Linked DNA regions of Homo sapiens: region 1 is linked to region 2. The links are contacts of gene promoters, found by promoter capture Hi-C in human tissues and cell types (Jung and others, 2019). All regions are on one chromosome and are shown on one strand. The core of a region is centred on a gene start or on the middle of the fragment in contact, and the rest is flanking DNA. Distances in the headings are between cores, read along the strand shown.

Region 1 (5,405 bases), core at 506-3,005, 250 kb after region 2:
CAACCTCCACCTCCTGGGTTCAAGCAGTTCTCCTGCCTCAGCCTCCCAAGTAGCTGGGATTACAGGTGCCCGCCACCACACCCGGCTAATTTTTGTGTTTTTAGTAGAGACGGAGTTTCGCCATGTTGGCCAGGGTGGTCTTGAACTCCTGACCTCCAGTGATCCGCCTACCTCGGCCTCCCAAAGTGCTGGGATTATAAGCGTGAGCCACTGCACCTGGTCCTAAGTGCTTTTTAAAAGCATAAGTTGGAGGGTCTTCAAAGTCTTTTGGCTAATGGCACATACTAAAACTTAAGCGAAACACTTTTTTTTCTTTTTTTTTTTTAACTGAGTAGGTGATAGCAAAGAATATTTATGCTAAGGCACATCATTGCAAAAGTCAACACTGAAAAAAGCAAATAATGTCCTTAGTATTATCATGACAATAATTTTGGCCTCCTGGACTTCCTAAAGGGTCTCAAGGATCTCTGGGGGTCTGTTGACCTCACTTTGAGAAGTTCTTTTCCAAAGTATAGTATGTATATTATATCTGATCACTTATTCAAGAAATTTCAGTGCTGTATGGCAGCACAGGTCTGGGTTTCAGGGATATACCCCTGAACAAAATAGATGAAAATATCTGCCCTCATGGAGCTTACATTGTGTCTTTGATTTTTCCCTTCTATCTTAGATCATGATGCCTCACTGGATATGTAGAGTATACCCTCCCCCACCTTTTTCTTCTGGTCTGCTTGTTTCATCTCCTCTTTGTTCTGTTATGGACACAGAGGAGATGAGACAAGCAGACCAGAAAAAATTGACTTAATTTATTTTTGTTTTATAGCTCTGTGTTTCCTATTGTTAATGTAAAAAATAAGTGAATAGAATGTTTTATAACCTCTTAAGTTCAACTAACTTTAAGTTGCTTTTTACTTACTGACTCCTGTTTGATTAGTGACCTCTATTAAATGTTTCTTGGAGTTACTGGAGTGAAAACAACTGGACAAGTCTTTGTGTTATGTTGATTGTTATTGACCTATAGATCTCTAAGAAATAGGTGACTAGTCTCTGAACTCTTGTAGACATTTCTAGAAAGGAAGGAGTATAGAAGGTAGCAGTCCTTACCCTCCCATCCCTTGTCATTCTTGCCTTAGTCCTGCCAACACAGCAAATGTATTAGAGTGTATGTGTCTGTGTATGTATATGTGTATATATAAAACCTGTGAATTATAAAATAGTGGTCTCAGAAGTAACACCCTGGGGAAAGACTAGGAATTCTTGGACAAAAAGGTAGACAGTGCTACTAAAATGTCAGATAGCACAGCTAAAAATAGTAAAAATGGATTGAAGAGAAAAACTGTTTATAAGCCTTTTCTTTCTTTTCTTTTCTTTTTTTAAAATTTCTTGTAGAGACTGGATCTAAGTTACCCACGCTAGTCTCAAATTCCTGGCCCCAAGTCATCCTCCTGCATTGGCCTCCCAAAGTGCTGGGATTACAGGTGTGAGCCATCATGCCGACCAAGCCTTTCATTTTACACACACACACACACACACACACACACACACTCTTTCTCTCTCTCTCACTCACTCACTTTTTTTTTTGTTTTTTGAGACAGAGCCTCGCTCTGTTGCCCAGGCTGGAGTGAGTTGCGCAATCTCGGCTCACTGCAACCTCCGACCCGCAGGTTCAAGTGATTCTCTTGCCTCAGCCTCATGAGTTGCTGGGATTATAGGTGCCTACCACCACACCCGGCTCATTTTTTTGTATTTTTAGTAGAGATGGGGTTTCGCCATGTTGGCCAGGTTGGTCTCAAACTCCTGATCTCAGGTGATCCGCCTGCCTCAGCCTTCTAAAGTGCTTGGATTTCACTCACTCTTAGAATGCTGTTTCTGAAACATTAAGTATTAAAATATAGTCATGTGGCACATAACAGGACAAACCTCATGAGGTTATGATATGCATTTTTACTGTATCTATGTTTAGATACATGAATACTTTGTTTGGATACACGAGTATCTTTCTATGTTTAGATACAGTTGCCTACAGTACTCAGCACAGTAACATGCTGTATAGATTTGTAGCCTAGGAGCAATAGGCTCTACCATATAGCCTAGGTGTGTGTAGGTATACTGTTCATATGACAATGAAATCATCTAACACATTTCTCAGAATGTATCCCTGTTAAATAACTCATGACTATATTTAATATATTTTCTTACCAGGGCGGGGAATTGTTTAGCATGTTTTAGAATTATTTCTATGTATTTCCATGCAAAATTAGGTGAAATAAAACCTGGATGAAATAATTGTTGTAAATTTGTTTCTCCCAGTCATATTTGATCATTGAGATATTTGTATTTTTTAGATTCTAAATTAAGATCCAATTGCCATTCAATAGGATAATAGTATACAGCTGAGTATTTAGTTTTAGGATGCTGTTTATACTAGCAAATATGAGGTAAAATGTAGGATGCAGAAATATACATATGACTGATTATTTTATGAAAGTATTAGTTGTTAAAATCAAGCTTATATTTAAGTGGCTACTAGGTTAGTTAAGTTTTGAGCTTCGTTGCTATTGAAACATCTACTTTATTTGATTGGAATAACTAGCCATTCTCTACTGCTGAAAGTAAAAGGATTGGCCAGGCACAGTGGCTCATGCCTGTAATCCTAGCACTTTGGAAGGCCAAGGCAGGCAGATCACTTGAGCCCAAGAGTTCAAGGCCAGACTGGGCAATGTGGTGAGACCCTATCTCTACAAAAAAGAAGTAATAAATTAGCTGGGTGTTGGCCAGGCGTGACGGCTCATGCCTATAATCTTAGCACTTTGGGAGGCCAAGGTAGAAGGATGACTTGAGCTTAGGAGTTCAAGACCAGCCTGGGCAACACAGTCAGACTTTGTCCCTATTCTATCAAAAATTAAAATTAAATTTAGAAAAATATTGGAAAAGAATAAAGAAAAAGTTAAAGAAAAAAAAGCCAGGTGTCATGGCACATGCCTGTAGTCCCAGCTACTCAGGAGGCTGAGTTGGGAGGATCACTTGAGCCCAGGAGGTTGAGGCTACAGTGAGCTGTGATTGTGTCACTGCCCTCCAGCCTGGGCAACAGAGGGAGAGCCTGTCTCAAAAATTTAAAATATATATATATAGGGAGAGAGAACGAGTGTCTGATTTTATTAGATCTCTGTATTTTTTTGGTAACAGGATGAAAAATCTGTTCAGATGCACTTCGGACCCTAAACGGTTTAATGCTTCTAAGTAAATTTTTGTTTTTTTTGAGAGGAATCTCACTCTGTTGCCCAGGCTGGAGTGCAGTGGCGCAATCTCCACTCACTCCCAGCTCCGCCTCCCGGATTCACACCATTCTCCTGTCTCAGCCTCCCGAGTAGCTGGGACCATAGGCGTCCGCCACCGTGCCCGGCTAATTTTTTGTATTTTTAGTAGAGACAGGGTTTCACCATGTTAGCCAGGATGGTCTCGATCTCCTGACCTCGTGATCTGCCCGCCTCGGCCTCCCAAAGTGCTGGGATTACAGGCGTGAGCCACTGCGCCCAGCCAAGTAAATATTTTTAAAAGAAAGTATTGTTGATAGTTCAGAAGCCACTGTATTCTCACCATTTTAAATGGAAGCACACACATAAGTTGACATTCAAAAGACTAGATTCCTTTGTGGTCATAGCATAAGCATTGTGAACGTCAGAGAAAGACAAGATTACATACCAGTTATAATCTAGGATAATGTGCATGTATCTGAATGTTCACTCTATGCCTGGTATTACTGTATGTAGCCAGCACTCTGAGGAATAAACTGGCAGCTGATGCAGAATTATTAAGCTGAAGACCTCTGTAAGCATTTCCTTGGTGTCTACAGGCTACCTGCGTCAGATTTACCTGAGATGCATGTTAATAATGCAGATTCACTGGATTCTGTCAAGCATAACTCCATCCTGGGTGGCACTCAGTTGATTCTTACGCACAGTAAAATTATTATTTAACAATAATAATTATTGTATTTGAAGTTACTAGTCCAGACTCTTTTCTTATATCTATGGCTATAGGACTTGTTTTAGGCAGAAATGTCTAGTAATGTTTCCTGTGATAATTTAAAACAAATAGGAAGATTGGGCTGAGCTTCTTTAAATACTGGTGCAAACCATTTTTTTTACAGTCAGTTAAAAAGGAATAAGAATAATCATTCAAGTTAGATATTTAATATAGGATTCTGAACTCATTTTTTAAGTGTTAATATTTTAAAACTATTCCACATTATTTTATGTGTTAGGCCATACATGTTTCAAAAGGAATTTAGCATCCTGTCTAAAAAGTATTCATACCTTCAGACATCTCAGAATCTCAGAACTTGATTGTTAAGCTAAGTTATGAATCTTTTTTTTTTTTTTTTGAGATGGAGTCTCGCCCTGTCGCCCAGGCTGAAATGCAGTGGTGCAATCTCGGCTCACTGCAACCTCCTCCTCCTGGGTTTAAGCGATTCTCCTGCCCCAACCTCCCAAGTAGCTGGGATTACAGGTGCACACCACTACGCCCAGCTAATTTTTGTATTTTTAGTAGAGACGGGGTTTCACTATGTTGGTCAAGCTGGTCTTGAACTCTTGACCTCGTGATCTACCTGCCTCAGCCTCCCAAAGTGCTGGGATTACAGGCGTGAGCCACTGTGCCCAGTCATGAATCATTTTTATTAGGATTACTATGTAAGTTTACTATTGGTCATCTTATTGAAACTTAACATGGCCGGGTGCAGTGGCTCACACCTGTAATCCCAGCACTTTGGGAGGCCGATGTGGGCGGATTGCTTGAGCTCAGTAGTTCGAGACCAGCCTGGGCAAAATGGTGAATCCCATCTCTACTAAAAATAGAAAAAATTAGCCAGGCATGGTGGCACACGCCTGTAGTCCCAGCTACTCAGGAGGCTGAGGTGGGAGAATCACTTGAACCTGGATAAGTGAGCCAAGATTGCACCACTGCACTCCAGCCTGGGTGACAGAGGGAGACTCCATCTCAAAACAAAAAACAAACAAAAAACTTAGAAGGTCCTTAATTCCAAAGTTTCTTGGTGCTAGTTCTAAAGTGGTTGAAAATTCTGCAGGTGACTGGTCAGAGTTGAATCAGAACTCCTGTGGTTGGGTTGTAGCATAGTGGCAAATTTCCAAGGTGTGCAAAGACAATTTTCCTCTCATCCCTGGGGCCACTGGAGCCACCAGCTGGCTATTGGCAATCTTGTTCTTTTACTTTGGGTGTATTGTGCAAATATTTTCTATATGTGCCATGATCGGAAAAATCTTGGGAAACTTGGCTTAGCAAATTTAAATTTCAGGGCCTTTTAAGATGGGAACTCAGTAAAGTTTCCTTGATAGAAATTTGCAATAAGATTTACTAGGAATGCTTCAAGTATTAGCTCTGTGCTG
Region 2 (5,329 bases), core at 545-3,044:
GCAGCCACCTTTGGGCGGAGTTCAGGGCTGGGTGCTGTGGAAGGGCAGTTCAGGAAAGTCCAAGGATGTTGACAACAGCATCATGCCACTGTAGCTTCCAGGCAGGTGGAAAAGGAAAGGAGGTTAGGTGGGAGGGAGGGAGAAGGTGAGTGAGAAGAAGGGCACAGTCGAGCACAGAGCTGGTGAGAGTTGAGGGGATCCCTGACAAAATCAGCCCACTGGCTGCGAGACGTTATTCAGGTCTTCTCCAAAGTTGCTCAGTTCTAAAATGAGACAATACTTTCCTCCCAGGCTAAATTGTGACAACATATATAAAGGGCTTGACCCAGAAGGCCTTCAGCAATGTGTTGCACTGAAAACTGCCAAATGCTGCAGAAGTTGCAGACACAGAGGAGGCCCAATCAGTGTCCTTTTTCATATTCACCTTTGAGCCGGGGGTGCCTGCTCAGGGCCTGGGCCACAAAAGGCACTGAGCAGAGATTTGTTTAGGAGGCAACATGAGGTAACAGTGAAGACAAGAGCAATTCTGCCTGCTTGCTGTAGGATCAGCCAAGCCTCCACTTTCTCCTCTGGCAGATGGAGATCATGGCAGTGCCTGCCTCATAGGTTGAGAGGATTCAATTAGGCAGGCCTGTGATGCAGATGCTGTGGGCTGTCCTGCCCCATCCCCTCAGCACTCACATTCCTGAGGGCCCGATGGCTTCCTACTTTTCTGTGGTCACAGGAGCATGCTGCTTAACACCTGTGGACCAGAAGTGCCAAGGAGGTAGCACTTCTATTAGCCAAAGACAGGAGTCAGAGCATAAAGATGCAGGTTCGGCCAGGTGCGGTGGCTCACGCCTGTAACCTCAGCACTTTGGGAGGCCAAAGCAGGCAGATTGCTTGTGTCTGGGAGTTTGAGATCAGCCTGGGCAGCATGGAGAAACCCATCTCTACTAAAAATACAAAAATTAGCCAGGCATGGTGGCGTGCAGCTGTAGCCCCAGTTACTTGGGAGGCTGACACAGGAGAATTACTTGAACCCAGGAAACGGAGGTTGCAGTGAGCCGAGATCATGCCACTGCACTCCAGCCTGGGCAACAGAGTGAGACCCTGTCTCAAAAAACAAAAAAAAAAACAAAAAAACCACACCTGGTGCAACTCAGGTGTGTTCCATGCAACCTCCCAGAACTCCCCAGCAGGATAACATACTAGTTGCCCACAATGGCAACCTGCTCATGAATGCACGTTTTGATTTCCCTCCCGTCCTCATCTCACATCCTCACTCCCCTCCTGGTGCCTCCTGGGATCACCTCCTAATTGAGTACTTGTTCTCAAATCCCTGTCTCAGTGTCTGCTGCTGGAAAGCCCAATCCAAAAGAGCGTGTAAAGTGCTTGACAGAAAGAGGACGCTTGATAAATGCTAGCCAGCTCACTAGTGTGAAAGTGTCATGAAGGCAGAAGTCATCCATCTGAATATGACTGTCTCCCCAGGTCCAGGTGCTGGCACAGAGGTGGCACCTAATACACATGTGTTGAAGAAATCAATAGACATGCTCCTCCCACCACCCTGTCCTTTCCCTCCCTCCCTTTCCCTAGTCTCACTCTCATTTCCCCCAGTCCCACATTTTCTTTCCTAGTGCTCTTTTTCTCCTCTCGTGGAGGAAGGATGCTCTGGGCCCAAATACCCCTTTGCTGTCCCAAAAGTTCCACTCTGGAAATGAGCCCCCCCGCAGCATTGTGACATCACCGTGCACTAGCCAATGGCTGCCTGCCTAAGCTGGGTCCCTGGTCTCCTGGGACTACTAGCCCTTTGTTGATAGGGAGAAGCCAACATCTCCCGCAGGACCCCCTAATCTTCAGGGCAGCTCCCAGAGCATGGATCCCTCCTGATTCCACTCAGCCCGATGTTCCTCACAGTCAAGCTGCTCCTGGGCCAGAGATGCAGTCTGAAGGTGTCAGGGCAAGAGAGTGTAGCCACGCTGAAGAGACTGGTGTCCAGGCGGCTGAAGGTGCCTGAGGAGCAGCAGCACCTGCTTTTCCGTGGCCAGCTCCTGGAGGATGACAAGCACCTCTCTGACTACTGCATTGGGCCCAATGCCTCTATCAATGTCATCATGCAGCCCTTGGAGAAGATGGCGCTAAAGGAGGCCCACCAGCCGCAGACCCAGCCCCTGTGGCACCAGCTGGGACTGGTCCTAGCTAAACACTTTGAACCACAGGATGCCAAGGCCGTGCTGCAGCTGCTAAGGCAGGAGCACGAGGAGCGCCTGCAGAAGATAAGCCTGGAGCACCTGGAGCAGCTGGCCCAGTACCTCCTGGCAGAGGAGCCTCACGTGGAGCCAGCTGGAGAGAGGGAGCTTGAGGCGAAGGCACGGCCTCAGAGCTCCTGTGACATGGAGGAGAAGGAGGAGGCAGCAGCTGATCAGTAAACGGGCCATCCTACCCATTTGCATGCTAAAATTCTCCCGGCCTCATCCTTACGTGTTCCCTGGTGACTTTTCCTACTACTTCCTGCTGATGTGGATGCGTCCACACCCCTTTTTGAACCTTCCAAGCAGCTGGAGGGTTTTTGGATCCCTGTCCCCTCTTGGGCCTGAGGTCCTCCCTCTGAAATGCAGAGTGAACCAACCCTCATCACCATGCTTCCCCTAGAAGGGTTCTGATCACCGGAGGGCAGCCCCAAAGGCCACAGTCCCCTCCTGTGCTGGCAGCTTTGCCCACACATACCCAGCAGCTCCCCAGGCTGAAAGCAGCCCTGGCCCAGGGTCTCCATGGTTCTAGGCAGACCCTCTTTCTCCTTCGGGACAGAAAGACAATGTGAGTTCATTTTCCTCCATCCTCAGACCGTGACATCTCCCCTAGGCTCCCCAGCAGCCAAGAGGAGAGGAATGTCAGGTAGCTGCCCCTTGCCTTCTGGGTGAGGCTGCCCCTGCTGTTCTCCTGCTTGTGCTTCCAGCTTAAGGGACAGGCACAGCAGAGGTGAGAGTGGGAGGAGGGCACGTACCGGGTGCCAGCCCTGGAGCCCTCAGGGAGACAGACACAGACCAAGAATAGCAGGAAACTGAGCCTCAGGCAGAAAAAAAGTTCAGCAAAGTCATACACTCCCTGTGGCCAGCGTGAACAGAGCCATGCCCCACCCTCCCAGACTGATCAGTCAGTAGGTATCACAGCTCACATTACCTGCCCAGCGCTGCCCAAGGCTCCCTGGAAGGAAAAATGGTATCTGTCAATGAGGATCCTTGCCCTCACAGAGCACGCAGCCTAGATGCAGAGAGCTGCTATACATGTGAAAAGTAAAGTGGTGACATGAAACTAGAGTCTAGTGTGTGTGACTGAATGCACGGGGCCTCACGGGGCCCTGGGTTCAGCATAGAGGGGCCAGTCCCCTGCAGACTACGAGGAAAGCCAGGCCCTTTACTCTGTTCTTTGAGTGAGAGAGTGGCCCTTGCAGAGGCTGAGGAGTCCCCACACTCTGTGTGTGAGTGGGAGGGAGTGGGGAGCTGTGGTCCCCCATTCACTGCTGAAGCCCCTGAAATGCTGTTATTGCAAAAGTTTCAGTCCTGAGTGATGGGGATGGAGGGAAGGGGTGGAGGAGAATGTCTTGAACAAGCAGGGCCCCCTTCCCTAGGAAGCATCCTGTCCTTGGCCTGCAGGGCCCCTCATCCTCTCTTCCAGTCCGAGTCCAGCTGTGTGGCCATGGGTAACCTGCTTTTCCTGTCTGATGCTCAGGTTTCCCACCTGTTGCATGGGCATCCTTATAACAGCATCTACTTACCCCATGAGTGTTGGTGACGGTTAGAGGCAAAGACTGTCCAACTGGGAGGGATGTCTTCTAGTGGTGGGCTCAGCGGCAGTGACAAGGATGGATGTGGAAAGCATTCTGTTTGTGGGAGCCTGCTTAGCAGTGGTCATTCCCTCACCTCGCAGAATAAGACAACCTCGTTCAGCTTATGACCCAGCTCCTTTCCCAGTGCCCCACCCACTGTCCCAGCCAAGAGAGCAAACTAGGGGCTCTGAGGAGACTAATGACCTCTCCCTGGGGTACCAAGGACCCAGCACGCACTGGCTGCAGCCAGCACTCCCAGGCTGGGGTTTAGGGGGCTCAAGCCTGCTCCTTGGTTCCTGTCCTGGTCCTGCTCCTGGGCCCTGCATCCTCAGCAGGGGAGCCCTCTTGACAGTTCTGTGAGTGTTTTCATGCTGGGGCTGTACCATTTGCCAAGGGAGATGAGCCTATTATCTTTACATTAGGGGAACTAATAGCCCATTTCCCAGGAAATCCGTGAGCGATAAAAATAAGTGGGCCGTTTTATTCCTTTTACTGAGAGAAGCTGGCATGAAGGACAGGGGAAGCCTTTGTTTTCTCTCTAGTTAGTGGGAGTATCAGGGCTGGCTGAGAGCAGGCCAGGGGAGGCAGCCACCTCCACTGTCTGTCCCCAGCACTGCAGGGGAGGATGTCTCCAATCCCAAACGGGGAAGAAGGAAAGTTGGTCTGCTCTTCCATGCACCTCCCACTACCGACTTCCCCCATCCCAAGGGCCCTCCTGCCCCTGTTCCTCCCTTCAAAAGCAGGAGAGAATGCACTGTCACTTGGAACTTAGCAGGAACTTGCACCTATTTGTCACCACTCCCAGGAATGGTCTTACTCAGTGCTGTGTTTCTCAATGTGGGGTGACAGGCATTGTCCCCTAAAGGATGTTGTTATAGTCATCAGAGAACAGAAGTTAGGAGTGTATTTGAGGGGCTGGGGCAGGATCAACCCCTAATACTCCAGCGATGGGTTTGGATCTCATCTGTGTTGAGAACACTAGCTCTTGGGCTGCCTGCCATGGGACCCCTCACTTTGCCTAGTTTTGCCCTATTTCAAACTGAAGCCTGTACCAGTGCACCTGTTGAAGGCTCCCTATTTCCTCTCTGCTTCGCTAGGGAGAAGGCACTTTTTCTAAACTTCAGCCTTGGGCAGAAACTCTTTCCCCTAACTCCCCACGGCATCTCTCCCCTACCTACCTACAGGTAACAATTTTGCTCATGTTGGGGGCATTTCAGGACAGCCACCACATCCAGTAGCCAGCTTCGTGTTTCTATCCACAGAGAAATCTAGCTTCTCATCCCAGCTTCTTCCTGGGTCACCTGCAGGCCAACACCCCTCAGTCCACTGGTCCATGGCAAAATAGTCTTTCTGATAGAAATAGGCAGAGCATCCTGGTCCATGTGCTATTTAGTCAGTCCTTTGCTTTTCGATCAATAAACATATATGGGCCTCTGTCTCAGTCTGTTTGTGCTGCTATAACAAAATACCTTAGACTGGGTAATTTACAAACAACAGAAATTTATCATTTACAGTTCTGAA

The links. The method cuts DNA at HindIII sites, captures the fragments that hold promoters and counts their contacts. A contact is called where the count stands out against the background at its distance.
Region 1: a contact is called between a fragment that was not itself captured here and the fragment with the promoter of UBL4B in region 2, in 2 of the 25 tissues and cell types used here (heart right ventricle and thymus).

What each region holds. Positions count from the first base shown.
Region 1 is chr1:110,364,589-110,369,993 of GRCh38, forward strand. All of the region lies in intron 8 of SLC16A4 (solute carrier family 16 member 4), which reads right to left. Among named protein-coding and RNA genes, the nearest start is that of SLC16A4, 24 kb to the right of the region's middle. The HindIII fragment of the contact is 7,024 bases long and covers 1-5,267 here.
Region 2 is chr1:110,110,649-110,115,977 of GRCh38, forward strand. UBL4B (ubiquitin like 4B) reads left to right here and starts at 1,795. Exons shown (of 1, transcript NM_203412.2): 1 at 1,795-3,299. The coding sequence starts at 1,887. The coding sequence ends at 2,411. The HindIII fragment of the contact is 14,264 bases long and covers 1-5,329 here.